4 separate regions of the Homo sapiens genome follow, and regions 1, 3 and 4 are each linked to region 2. The links are contacts of gene promoters, found by promoter capture Hi-C in human tissues and cell types (Jung and others, 2019). All regions are on one chromosome and are shown on one strand. The core of a region is centred on a gene start or on the middle of the fragment in contact, and the rest is flanking DNA. Distances in the headings are between cores, read along the strand shown.

What was found. The method cuts DNA at HindIII sites, captures the fragments that hold promoters and counts their contacts. A contact is called where the count stands out against the background at its distance.
Region 1: a fragment that was not itself captured here is called in contact with the fragment with the promoter of AP3M2 in region 2 in 1 of the 25 tissues and cell types used here (H1 embryonic stem cells).
Region 3: a contact is called between a fragment that was not itself captured here and the fragment with the promoter of AP3M2 in region 2, in 1 of the 25 tissues and cell types used here (neural progenitor cells).
Region 4: a fragment that was not itself captured here is called in contact with the fragment with the promoter of AP3M2 in region 2 in 4 of the 25 tissues and cell types used here (dorsolateral prefrontal cortex, heart right ventricle, mesendoderm cells and 1 more).

Annotation. Positions count from the first base shown.
Region 1 is chr8:42,457,535-42,460,388 of GRCh38, reverse strand. It overlaps SLC20A2 (solute carrier family 20 member 2), which reads left to right. Exons shown (of 11, transcript NM_001257180.2): 5 at 397-493. Among named protein-coding and RNA genes, the nearest start is that of SLC20A2, 42 kb to the left of the region's middle. The HindIII fragment of the contact is 6,800 bases long and covers 1-2,854 here.
Region 2 is chr8:42,151,585-42,154,312 of GRCh38, reverse strand. It overlaps AP3M2 (adaptor related protein complex 3 subunit mu 2), which reads right to left and starts at 1,250. Exons shown (of 9, transcript NM_006803.4): 1 at 1,208-1,250. RefSeq lists a silencer at 735-1,344 and an enhancer at 2,175-2,294. The HindIII fragment of the contact is 9,480 bases long and covers 1-2,728 here.
Region 3 is chr8:41,816,287-41,819,125 of GRCh38, reverse strand. It overlaps a transcript of ANK1 not described here. Among named protein-coding and RNA genes, the nearest start is that of ANK1, 20 kb to the right of the region's middle. RefSeq lists enhancers at 1-448, 1-754. The HindIII fragment of the contact is 8,264 bases long and covers 1-2,839 here.
Region 4 is chr8:41,888,871-41,891,687 of GRCh38, reverse strand. It overlaps a transcript of ANK1 not described here. Among named protein-coding and RNA genes, the nearest start is that of ANK1, 93 kb to the right of the region's middle. The HindIII fragment of the contact is 3,254 bases long and covers 1-2,817 here.

The DNA.
Region 1 (2,854 bases), core at 341-2,840, 310 kb before region 2:
TAGGGCCAAACCTGGACTTGGCTGTAGTGAGCACTATGGGTTTTGAGGAAGGAGATGCTGAGCTCTGGGCTTTGGTCCTCCGGAACCGGCTTGACCCAACAGATCTTTTCTGTTTCCAAGTCTGACATCAGCTCATGTGATTCCAGGGCTTTAATGTGTCTGCTGGCCACAACAGTGGGCTCTTTGACATTGCATTTGTGTGGGAGAGATGGCCCCAGCCAATGCCATTTCTGCAGAAGTGGAGCAGATCACAGGCAGTGACAACGCCCATCCTTTTGGCCACACTGGGGTTTGGGAAGAGTTTCTTGTAACAGTATTTTGTATCATTTTGTCTGTGTTGGCTCCAAATGCTGCTGGGATCCTGACCTTCCACTCTGTCTCCTTGTCTTCCTACAGGAAGACCCTGTTCCCAATGGCCTCCGGGCACTCCCAGTATTCTATGCTGCTACCATAGCAATCAATGTCTTTTCCATCATGTACACAGGAGCACCAGGTAAGGATCCCTTGGAAGCATACTCCAGGGGCAAAGTGCATTGTATTCTAACAGTATCAGTTTATTTGGTGCTGGTATTGTTGGCTGACAGTAAAAAGCATTACTCATGGTCATTATGGAATAGGTGCTGGAGTTGTTGGCTGATAGTAAAATGCGTTACTCATGGTCATTATAGAATAGTAAAAAGAGTGGTAAATGCATTTACTTGTCTTAATTAAATACCCAAGAGATATGTAGAGTACAAAGGCAACAGACTTTCAAGTTAGAAAAAAAAATTAAATCCCCACTCTGCCATTTACGCAGCTGTGTTGCCACTATAGCTTAGCCTCTCTGAGCCTCAGAACCTGATCTAATCCCACAGGCCTACAGGGTTGTGCAGGGGTCAGGAGAGGGTGTGGAGCACCTGGGGCCATGCCTGGCACCCAGTGAGCGGGACAGTCCACACATCAGCAATGCCCAGCGGAGCTCTAAAGCCGTTCACAGCACAGAGTACAGACCCCTGGAAATATCAGACCAGTTTATCCAGAGACTAGAAGCCATGCTTTGTTTTTTTAGATACCGAAGCCAATGATGATTTTCTTTGCTGAATTACTCCTTTCCTTGTCATTCTCATGGATTTTGTTGTTATTTTTTATGTTTTTTTTTTTTTTTTTTTTTTTTGAGATAGAGTCTCACTCTCTCACCCAGGATGGAGTGCAATCGCGCTATCTTGGAAAACTGCAACCTCCGCCTCCCAGGTTCAAGCGATTCTCCTGCCTCAGCCTCCTTAGTAGCTGGGATTACAGGAGCACACCACAGGTTTTCACTATGTTGGCCAGGCTGGTCTCGAACTCCTGACCTTGTGATCCGCCTGCCTCGACCTCCCAAAGTGCTGGGATTACAGGCGTGAGCCACTGCGCCTGGCCGCTTTTGTTCTTTTGTATAAAGGTTCAGAGGTTTTTTGTGGGGGGGGGGGTTAAAAATTATTTTTTATTTTATTTTATTTTTGAGACAGAGGCTCGCTCTGTTGCCCAGGCTGGAGTGCAGTGGCGCTATCTTGGCTCACTGCAAGCTCCGCCTCCTGGGTTCATGCCATTCTCCTGCCTCAGCCTCCCGAGTAGCTGGGACTACAGGCGCCCTCCTCCTCGCCCAGCTAATTTTTTGTATTTTTAGTAGAGACAGGGGTTTCACCATATTAGCCAGGATGGTCTCAGTCTCCTGACCTCATGATCCGCCCCACCTTGGCCTCCCAAAGTGCTGGGATTACAGGCATGAGCCACCATGCCCGGCCTTTTTTTTTTTTTTTTTCTTTATTGCCCAGGCTGGAATGCAGTGGTGCAATCATAGCCCACTGCAGCCTTGACCTCATGGGCCCAAGCAATCCTCCCACCTCAGCCCCCTGAGTAGCCGGAACCACAGGTGTGTGCCACCACACCCAGCTAATTTTTTATTTTTTGTAGAGATGGGGTCTCTATATTGCCCAGGCTGGTATCAAACTCCTGGCCTCAAGTAATCCTCCTGCCTCAGCTTCCCAAAGTGCTGGGATTACAGGTGTGAGCCCTACTGCACCTGGCCTAATTCTTTTCTTTTAGACCTTGAATAGGAAAATGAATAAGCTTATGTATGGTATTCTTGTTTGCACCCATTTCAGCACTGATGAGCTAGTAGCATTCTGTTAAACATTTCTGTACATGTTTGCTAGAGAATATTCCTCTTCTGTTTGTGAGATGCGCCTCCTACAGCCAGACTGTGGGATCTGTGACATCAACAGATGTGTTAGTTTGTGCTGGTTTTCATCTTCTTAATGTCTGTTATGGATGAAGATTTGGTTATTGGCCATGTTGACAGAAAAGGCTCCCTCTCTGTGTTTTAAAGATGAAATTTCTGCTAAATGACATGTCCTATCATAATCGAAAAGCGCCCTCTTCCAAAATAGTGGAAATCCTTATTACTTTCTCAAACTAGGAGTTCTCAATGTAATGTTCCTCAGATTTTATTAAGAATATCTAATTATATTTTATATGTTTCAGTACTGGGAATAAAGTATTCCTAAATGATTCTAACATTATATAACCTTTTACTGTGGTATCTGTGTAGTGTTCAGAACATTGATCTTAAAGGCTTAAATACTCAGCCGGGCGCAGTGGCTCATGCCTGTAATCCCAACACTTTGGGAGGCCGAGGTGGGTGGATCACAAGGTCAAGAGATCAAGACCATCCTGGCCAACCTGGTGAAACCCCGTCTCTACTAAAAATACAAAAATTAGCTGGGCGTGATGGTGCGCGCCTGTAGTCCCAGCTACTCAGGAGGCTGAGGCAGGATAATTGCTTGAACCTGAACCCAGGAGGTGGAGGTTGCAGTGAGCCAAGCTTGCGCCACTG
Region 2 (2,728 bases), core at 1-2,500:
TTTTGCGTTGCCTGACTGCAACACAATCAGTGTTCTTTGAAGAGGGCTTCCAAGAACACTGAATTTGATGTCATGTTTTGGCAACAGCTCACACATACACAAGAAATGCGCAGCTTAATACGATAGCCACTATGGGACCAGCGAGCACTTGAAAGGTGGCTGGTGCGGACTGAGGTGTGCTGTTAAGTGTAAGACACACGACAAATCTGAAAGGCTTTGCATGAAAAAAAAAATTTCAAATATCTTACCAATAATTTAATATTGATTATATGTTGTAATAACATTTTGGATATCCTGGGTTAAATCAAATATATTAAAATTAATTTAACCTGTTTTATTATTTTAAAGTGGTTACCAGAACATGTACAATTACATATGTGGTTTGCTTTCTATTTCTGCCCACCAGAATTGGTGGGAGGAATGGAAAGCTGCCCTTGGGGGTCTTTATTCATCCAATCAGAGCTATTCTCTGAGCACTCCTTAGGCACTTGTTAATGCAGTAAGACATTTAAAAAGATCCCTTGGGGCTCCCGCCTGTGATCCCAGTACTTAGGGAGGCCTCCGCGGGCAGACCGCTGGAGCTCACGAGTTCGAGATCAGCCCGGGCAACAGAGGGAGAACCCCGCCCCCTCCACCTCCAAAAAAAAAAAAAAATTTCCCTGGGGGACAGACACCCCAAGGCCCTCAGACGGTTGCATCTCTCTGGTGCCAGTCGCCAGGATGTGGCCATTCCGCGAACCGGCGCGGGTGGTCAAAACGCAGAGGCCTGCGGTGCCCAGCGCCGCCTGGAGGAGACAGCAGGAGGGAGAGACAGCCAGGCAGCCCGGGGTGCGAGGGAGAGGCAGCGGCCTAGGCAGGCGGTCCCTGCGCAGGCCCCGGCCCAGAGCCGGCGGCGACGGAGGCCGCGGGGCGCAGGCGGGCAGGGGCCTGGCTGAAGGGGCACGCGCGTTCCGGGGTGAAGAGCGCAGGGGTGCCGGGCCGCGCCAGCGAGCGCACGTGCGCTGCCATGGCAACAGTGTCCCCTCCGCCCGCAGCCGCGGCGCCGGGAAGGACGCCCTCCCCGAACTCTGAACCCGGCCCCTCACCTCTCCCCGCCGCGTCCGCAGCCCTGAGAGGCCGCCCGGCTGCATCCTGAGACCCCGCCCCGACCCTCGCGCGCCCCCACTCCTGCCCCCTCTCCAGGCTCGGGGTCGTCCCTACTCCTCACCTGGCCTTGCTGCTCTCAGCGCCCACTGCTCCTAGGCGCGGACAGGCCCCGCCCCGCCCGCCGCGCGCGCTGAGGCAGCCGCTCGCCCGCTGATTGGCCGGCCCGCGGCCTGGCTACCGCTCCGCCCACGATCTGCGCCTGAAGGCCGCTGATTGGGTATCTGGGAGCCGCTCCTCCCCTCTGATTGATCGCTGTTGGCGGCTTGCCCTGTTGTCGGGCTCGAGTCCCCCGATTGGCCCTGTTGAGGCCACGGTCATCTCCGATTGGTACAGCTCCGAGACCCCGAGTCCTGATTGGAGGTCGAAGACAGTGCGTGCTGCTCGGCCCCACTCATCCAGTCACAAAGGGCTGGGGCGGTCGCCGCGCTCGCGTGTTTGCGGAGTGCGCCTGGAGGGGGCGCTGGAGTATGTGTGTGCCGGGGCGGGGTGGCTTCCGGGCACGAGTTGCTGACAGCGCCTCGCGGTTGATAAATCCTGAGGGCGGCGGCTACCCTGCACTCCATCGGTGCCTTTGGGAAGCGCCGCCTTCTCTGTTGTACCCGGCCGTGGGTCAGGTCGGCGCGGCTGGCGGTGGAGTCTCGGACACCGAGCCCTGGACCCCGACTCTGGAAGCCCCCAGCCCCACTGGGCCGCGGCAGGGCGCCCACCCTCCACAATCTCAGTTCCCAGCCGGGGAGTGAGGGGCTGGGCGGGTCTCTCCACCGCTTTGGAGACCTCAGGACTTGGATACGCTTTTGAGTGGTCCCAGTCGTCCTGATCCACGAAGGCGTGGAGTGGAAGTCAGGACCAGGGGTCGCCCCAGTGACGCAGGAAGTCAAGCCCAGATGCGGTGAGGCGTCGCCAGCCTTGGACCCAGCAGTGGGCGCTGGTGACAGTGGCGACCTCGCCGATGAGAGGTTCGCCCTCCCTAGCATTAGTTGTCACTTTGGTGAAATGGAGCGTGGGTGGCAGCTCCTCCACACACAAGCCCTTTGCTGAGGTGGTGCGGGGGGTTCTCTCCACGCTTGCTAAGGGCAGGTAGTTGGCTGACTTTGAACTATGAAGAAAAGCCAGAAACAAAATGGCAGAATGGTATGACTCTGGGTGGGCTTAGGGACGCTGGTGCCAGAGGACTTGGCTTGAACCCGCTCCAACACTTACAACCTGAGTGACCGTGAGAAAGAACTGTAACTCCTCTAAACTTCAAGTTCCTCACTTCTCAAATAAGAACGTGAATAGTACCTCCCTCCTAGAGTTGTGAGGATTGAGTTAGAAAATGCTAGCAATTGTTATGCCCTAAGGAACAGCACAAGATACAATAACACGTGATAATGTGTGTCGAAGGTGCAGAAATGCAGTCGCTGCCGTGAGAATTTCTCATTCATTCACTGAATTAACATTTGCCGAAAACCCCCACGTATCGACCTGTGCTGGATGCTGGAGATGCTGCAATGACTGCTGTCACAGGCATTGTCCCTGTGGTTACAGGGCCCAGCAGGAAAGACAAATGAGAAGCAAGGGATTGCAATGCAGTGTGATGAAT
Region 3 (2,839 bases), core at 121-2,620, 340 kb after region 2:
GGGTTGCTGTTTTTACAGTTGAATGCAAAGGCTTATTTATGAGAAACCAGTGAGGTCTGGGCATCAATGAGGCTGGTAGATCTACCCTGTCCTTCTAGTGTGCATGCGGGCCCTTAGCTTGAGTTACTCCATATTGCTTTGTTACCTTTACTGTGCATATGTTAGGGAACAGAATTTTCCATTGCCGGCATGTCTGGGCAAGTTACCTGTGTAGGCTTTCTTATCTGTGCAGCTGTGGGCGTGTCTTAGGCAAGCCCCGCTGTGCACAATCCCTTATCTGTGCCTGTGGACTGTTCTTTTGTTTGAAAGAATTCAACCAAGGACACACTTTAATTGCCTGCCTGACCAGGTTTTTTCCATTCTCCTCTCTCACTAGCATTTAGGGAGGCAGAGGCAGGAGGATTGCTGAAACCCACGAGTTCAAGACCAGCCTGGGCAATATAGTGAGAAAGGAAAAAGAAGAAAGAAGGAAAGAAAGAAAGAAAGAAGAAAGAAAAAGAGAGAGAGAAAGAAAGGGAAAGAGAAGGAAAGAAAGAAAGAAAGAAAGAAAGACTTATTGGTTTGAGTCACTACCTCTGGGATAAATAAATTGGCTATATTTGAAAAAATTTTTAGAGAGCTCACATCCTAAACAACTGTATTACTGATACCTATGGTATAATCCAACTGAAAAGAAGACATAATGGATTTAATGATTAGCTTTAGGGCCCCTTTAGCAAGATTAAAAGCAGAAATCAAGTTTAGAACCAAGTTAAAATTGTTTAAATTTGGCCTAAATTCCTCTTCTGTGCTCTCTTATATCCACAACTCCCTGGTCCTGACCCTCTGGAAGAACTCTGGAGCTCTGGGCCCCTGATTTAAAACTTTACTCCTCCAAATCTCCATTTTCTCAGTAAATTCCATTAGCTCAGGCGGGAAACATTTGTAGGAATGGGTTTGAATTGAGTCTTGGTGTTGGGGTACCCATTAGTTATTAACCCTTTCCCTCCCGTGGATAGTTATTGCTTTCCTATACGTCTTCTTTTATTTTTTCTTCCCCAAGAACTTTGTTTGACTTTGCAGCCAGCGGGGGCACGTGGGTTATTGGGCCTGTATGTGCAGGTGGCCATCCAAAAGGTTGGAAATCTCCAAGAATGTGGCCGGACAGAAACATGGGTGCAGCCCATTGGCAGCTGGCACACCAACTCTTGCCACTTCTCAGGAGCATCGTCTCAGGGTTTCTCTCCGTGGCTGTCTTTGGGAGTGGCCCTGGATTGTGAAAGGGCTGCATCTTTTTTGTCTCTCTTTGGAGATGCCTCATGCATTCATGGTTCAGTGGTGAAAAGCATGTTTGTTTTGGTCTTGAGTCACTTGTTAGGTATATCTTCGGTTTAGAGCTTTGGTTTATATAAAGCATGATAGGAATTTTTTCCTTTAGCTCTTCCCTCCTAAGCTAAAATGGAACTGTGTACTCAGAAAGAAAGAAAACAGTTTATTAAAACTTTTCTAGACAAATAGCTCTAACTCTAGAACAGAGGAATATTTTGGTTTCCATCCTAGTTGGAAATCTGCTTCTTGATATAAAGGAGCAAACTGAAGATCGGATGGATGGGTCAGCACCTTGACATTCAGGCTGCAACCCAGTTCTTAGGGGAATTAAAAACAACTGTCCTCGTCTTACACATTGAGGCTTTATCACAGCAGGAATGTGCCTCTGGAAGCAATTCAAAGCCCACCTAGCCTTCTTACCAGTACCCAAACCTCACCTGTTCATCTCAAGATGTTTGCAAAAACTTCAGCAAATCAGAACACTGGAAACAAAAGTGTCTTGCATTTAAGAAAAAGAAGGAAAAGTTTTAATAGATTTATCCTAGACTTCTGATAATAGGCAAATGTGCCCCCCAAAACTCCTTCCTGTTGAAAACTTGAATTCTTTCTCTGTGCTTTTGAGATGTAAATTTTCTAACCTGTCTTATCTAAGATCTTATCAAGATCCTTCTTGAAGTGCAAACTTCAGGGAGATGATTCTCAGGTTAAAAAGAAAAAAAAAAAAGAAACTATTTGGAAACTGGCAAATGACAAGTCTTGAGTACAAAAGCATGAGCCACCTGAGCAGGGAAACTTCACTGGTCCCATTTGCCAGATCCAGCTATTCTCTTATAAGTGAGTTTTGAATTATTGTATCTGGCACATGGTTAAAATTTAGTAAGATCTGTTTCTATCTATATGGTTATGTATGTCTAAGTATGTATGTATGTCATGTAATGTGATATTTTCTATCTCTGGATAAGGTCTATTTAATTGGCTTAAAGAAAAATAAGTGTTTATAAAAATTGTTCTCTCAGAAAAAGAGAAATTAACCAAAGTGCTTTTCAACTTCATGTAACCGATAAAATTTGGTAAATAAGAATATTATTGGCCAGACCTGGTGGCTCATGCCTGTAATCCCAACACTTTGGGACGCTTAGGTGGGAGGACTGCTTGAGGTCAGAAGGGCAAGACCAGCCTGGGCAACATAGCAAGAACCCTGTGTCTACAAAAAATAAAAAATTAGCTGGGTGGGGTGGTGCATCCCAGCTACTTGGGAGGCTGAGGTGGGAGGATCCCTTGAGCCCAGAAGTTCGAGGTTGTAGTGAGCTATGATTGCACCACTGCACTCCAGCCTGGGTGACAGAGCAAGACCTTATCTCTAAATAAGAAAAAAAAGAATATTATTTGTTTAATTAAAACAGGCAAGTCTTCAGAATTGTTAGCATTAAATATAATGCAACCAAATTTTCATCTCTTAGATGTTTAAAATCGTAAGACTATGGGTTCAACCTAAGAGCAACTGTGCAAGTAAAACTGCAGTGTCCATTAC
Region 4 (2,817 bases), core at 166-2,665, 260 kb after region 2:
TCCTGTCCATTTTTTCAGTTCAGCTCCTCCCTCCCTGCTGCAGAGGTAGCAGTGGTGGGGGCTGTTCCCAGGATCTCTCCTCACTTCCCAGCCATAGGCTAGACCAGGAGAGCAGGGTCTTGAGGGCTGAGAAGATGTTACACTCTGAATTTTGGCTGCTGCTCCACCTCTGTGAAGGGTGACTGTGAGGAGCAAGTGATGTGCAAACCATCTAGTGCTGGACTGTCTCAGAGCAGGTGCAGCAGCAGCTGAAATTCAGAGCCTGGAGCAAGTCACCTCCCTGGGCAGGGGACACGAGCTGGCCTCCAGTGTCTCCCCGTTTCTTTTGCTCACCCCAGCAAAGGCTGCTGGCTCACCAGTTCTGCTCCTCTCCTCTCAATGTGGCAACACTTAAAAAAAAAAAACAAACTCATCTGAGGTTTCTTCCCTATTTTCACAATAAAAATGAGCACGTAGTGGCGAGTGTGTCCTATGTACAGGCGCTCTTCATCGGTGTTAGCTTGCCCCTGTGTCTGCTTTGGCAACACCTTTGAATAGGTGATCCTGTTATTGATTCCTTCCTCCTTCAATGTCAAAGCCCAACACTGTCGCCTGCAAGAAACCTTTCATATCTGTCCCCTCCTTACCCCCACCCCATTGCTCTCTCTGCACCTTCCACGCATACACACATGCACATGCAGAAGTTCTTGTTTTATCTCTTCTACTAAATTGTAAGCACTTTGAAGCCAACACTTGAGCCTTTGTACATAACCATTCACTAGATATCTATGGCTTGAATTGGTTGAAAAGCTACATTTAACTAGTACAGGTTTTTTTTCTTAGTTGTTCTTTTTGATTTTGAGAGAGTTGGCCCTAAAGAATTGGTACCAAGTAAATCTATTGTTTCCCCCACCTTGAATTCTTCTGACTGAAATAAAATCTATTGTCACTGTTTTTTTCTTCTTTTCTTTTTTTCTTTTTTCTTTTTTTTTTTTTTTTTGAGACGGAGTCTCGCTCTGTCACCCAGGCTGGAGTATAGTGCTACAACCTCAGCTCACTGCAACCTCCGCCTCCTGGGTTCAGGTGATTCTCCTGCCTCAGCCTCCAGAGTAGCTGGGACTACAGGCGCGTGTCACCATGCCTGGCTAATTTTTGTGTTTTTAGTAGAGACGGCATTTCACCATGTTGGCCAGGCTGGTCTCGAACTCCTGACCTCAAGTGATCCGCCTGCCTCGGCCTCCCAAAGTGCTGGGATTACAGGCTTGAGCCATTGTGCCCCCACCCAGCCAGTGTTTGTTTTTTTGAGAAAGGCAGATCAACTTTGCCTGGCTCTCTATCTCCATTTCTGGTTCTTGAGAAGCTCAAAACTCCACCTCCTACAGAACACTGGCATGGAGTCGGCTGCCCAGGTTCCAGTTTGAGCTCTTGCATGTATCAGCTACGTGTGCATGAACAAGCCTCTGAATTTCCTCCAGCCTCAGTTTTCTCATCTGTAAAATAGGGATGAAGATCAAATGAGATAATAAATGAGAATGTGCTTTGTAAATTTTAAAACTCCCATATATTTAATGGAGTATAGCTAATAAAATAATGATTGTTCATAAAGTTATTCTTTCTAATAAATCCTTTACCAAAGTTCATTCCTGGCCTTCCAATGGTATTGTGAAGTCTTGAGGTTTGCCGGGGAAGGCCAGCTTGTTATTCTTTCAGTACTGGGAAATGAGAAAAGGATACTTTAAATCATATCTTCATTTCATTTTCAGGAAAAAAAATGAATTTTCTATTTGGACAGGATTTTTATTGCAGACCTGCGCAGTAATCTGCATGGGTTCGTCAATAACTTCCAGGTGGGCTTAGATACTTGCAAGCTTTATTGAAGTCTTGTGTGGCACCAGTGCTGTATATCAGAGGGGAACATAAAAGGGCTTCCTAACTTTGCTGAGACTCCTATGGCTGTTAGATCCACAGGTAGTAAATCTGGGTGTGAACTGTCACAGATAATGGAATGTGTGGTGTTGTGGGGAGACCGGATTCCTCTGGCGGAGACTCTCTGGATCTTGGGTGCACAAAGCACAGCACATTCTCCAAGAAAGGAAAACTTGCATTGGAGACACTCAAAGTGAAAGCAAAGATGTAATGGCCAGCCAATTAAAAAAAGAGAGCACCATTCTTTCCTTCTCATTTGCTTCCAATGTGACTGGACTCTTCTTCTCAAAGATTTCCCTGTGTTTTTACCAAGGAAATAGTACATGTCCAATTGCTTTTGCATCCATTGGCGAGCATTGACAATGATATTTGCAAAAAAACTTCTTTCTTTATCAAGGGAGGTGCCTGCACTTATGAGGGTCTCCAGTGTTCCTCGTGCATGACATGCATTGTCACACTCTGTCGCCCAATAGGTTGATAACCCCAGAACTGGGCTCCAACCCAGATGCACCTGACTCCAAAGCTTATTAACAGCCCACAGCACTAGGCTACTTCCCCCAGGTATTGGTTGTGCCCTTAGGATATTCAAAGCTATGCTAGGCACTGAGAGAAGAGTCAAAGCTGAAGCTATCTTTCCTTCCCTGTCTGGGCACAGTGACTCATGCCAGTAATCCCACCACTTTGGGAGCCGAGATGGGAGGATCACTTAAGGCTAGGAGTTCAAGACCAACCTGGGCAACATGGTGAGACCCAGTCTCCACAAAAAATTTAAAAACTGAAGATAGTTTTCCTTCTTTGAAGTGAAGGACTTATAAATTAGTGGGAAAGCTGCCAGAGTTGGAAGTAACCTCAGGCAGAGGATGGAGAGCTTAGGGCAAAGCCTGTGGCCTCCGGTTCCAGTGGGAATGTGGG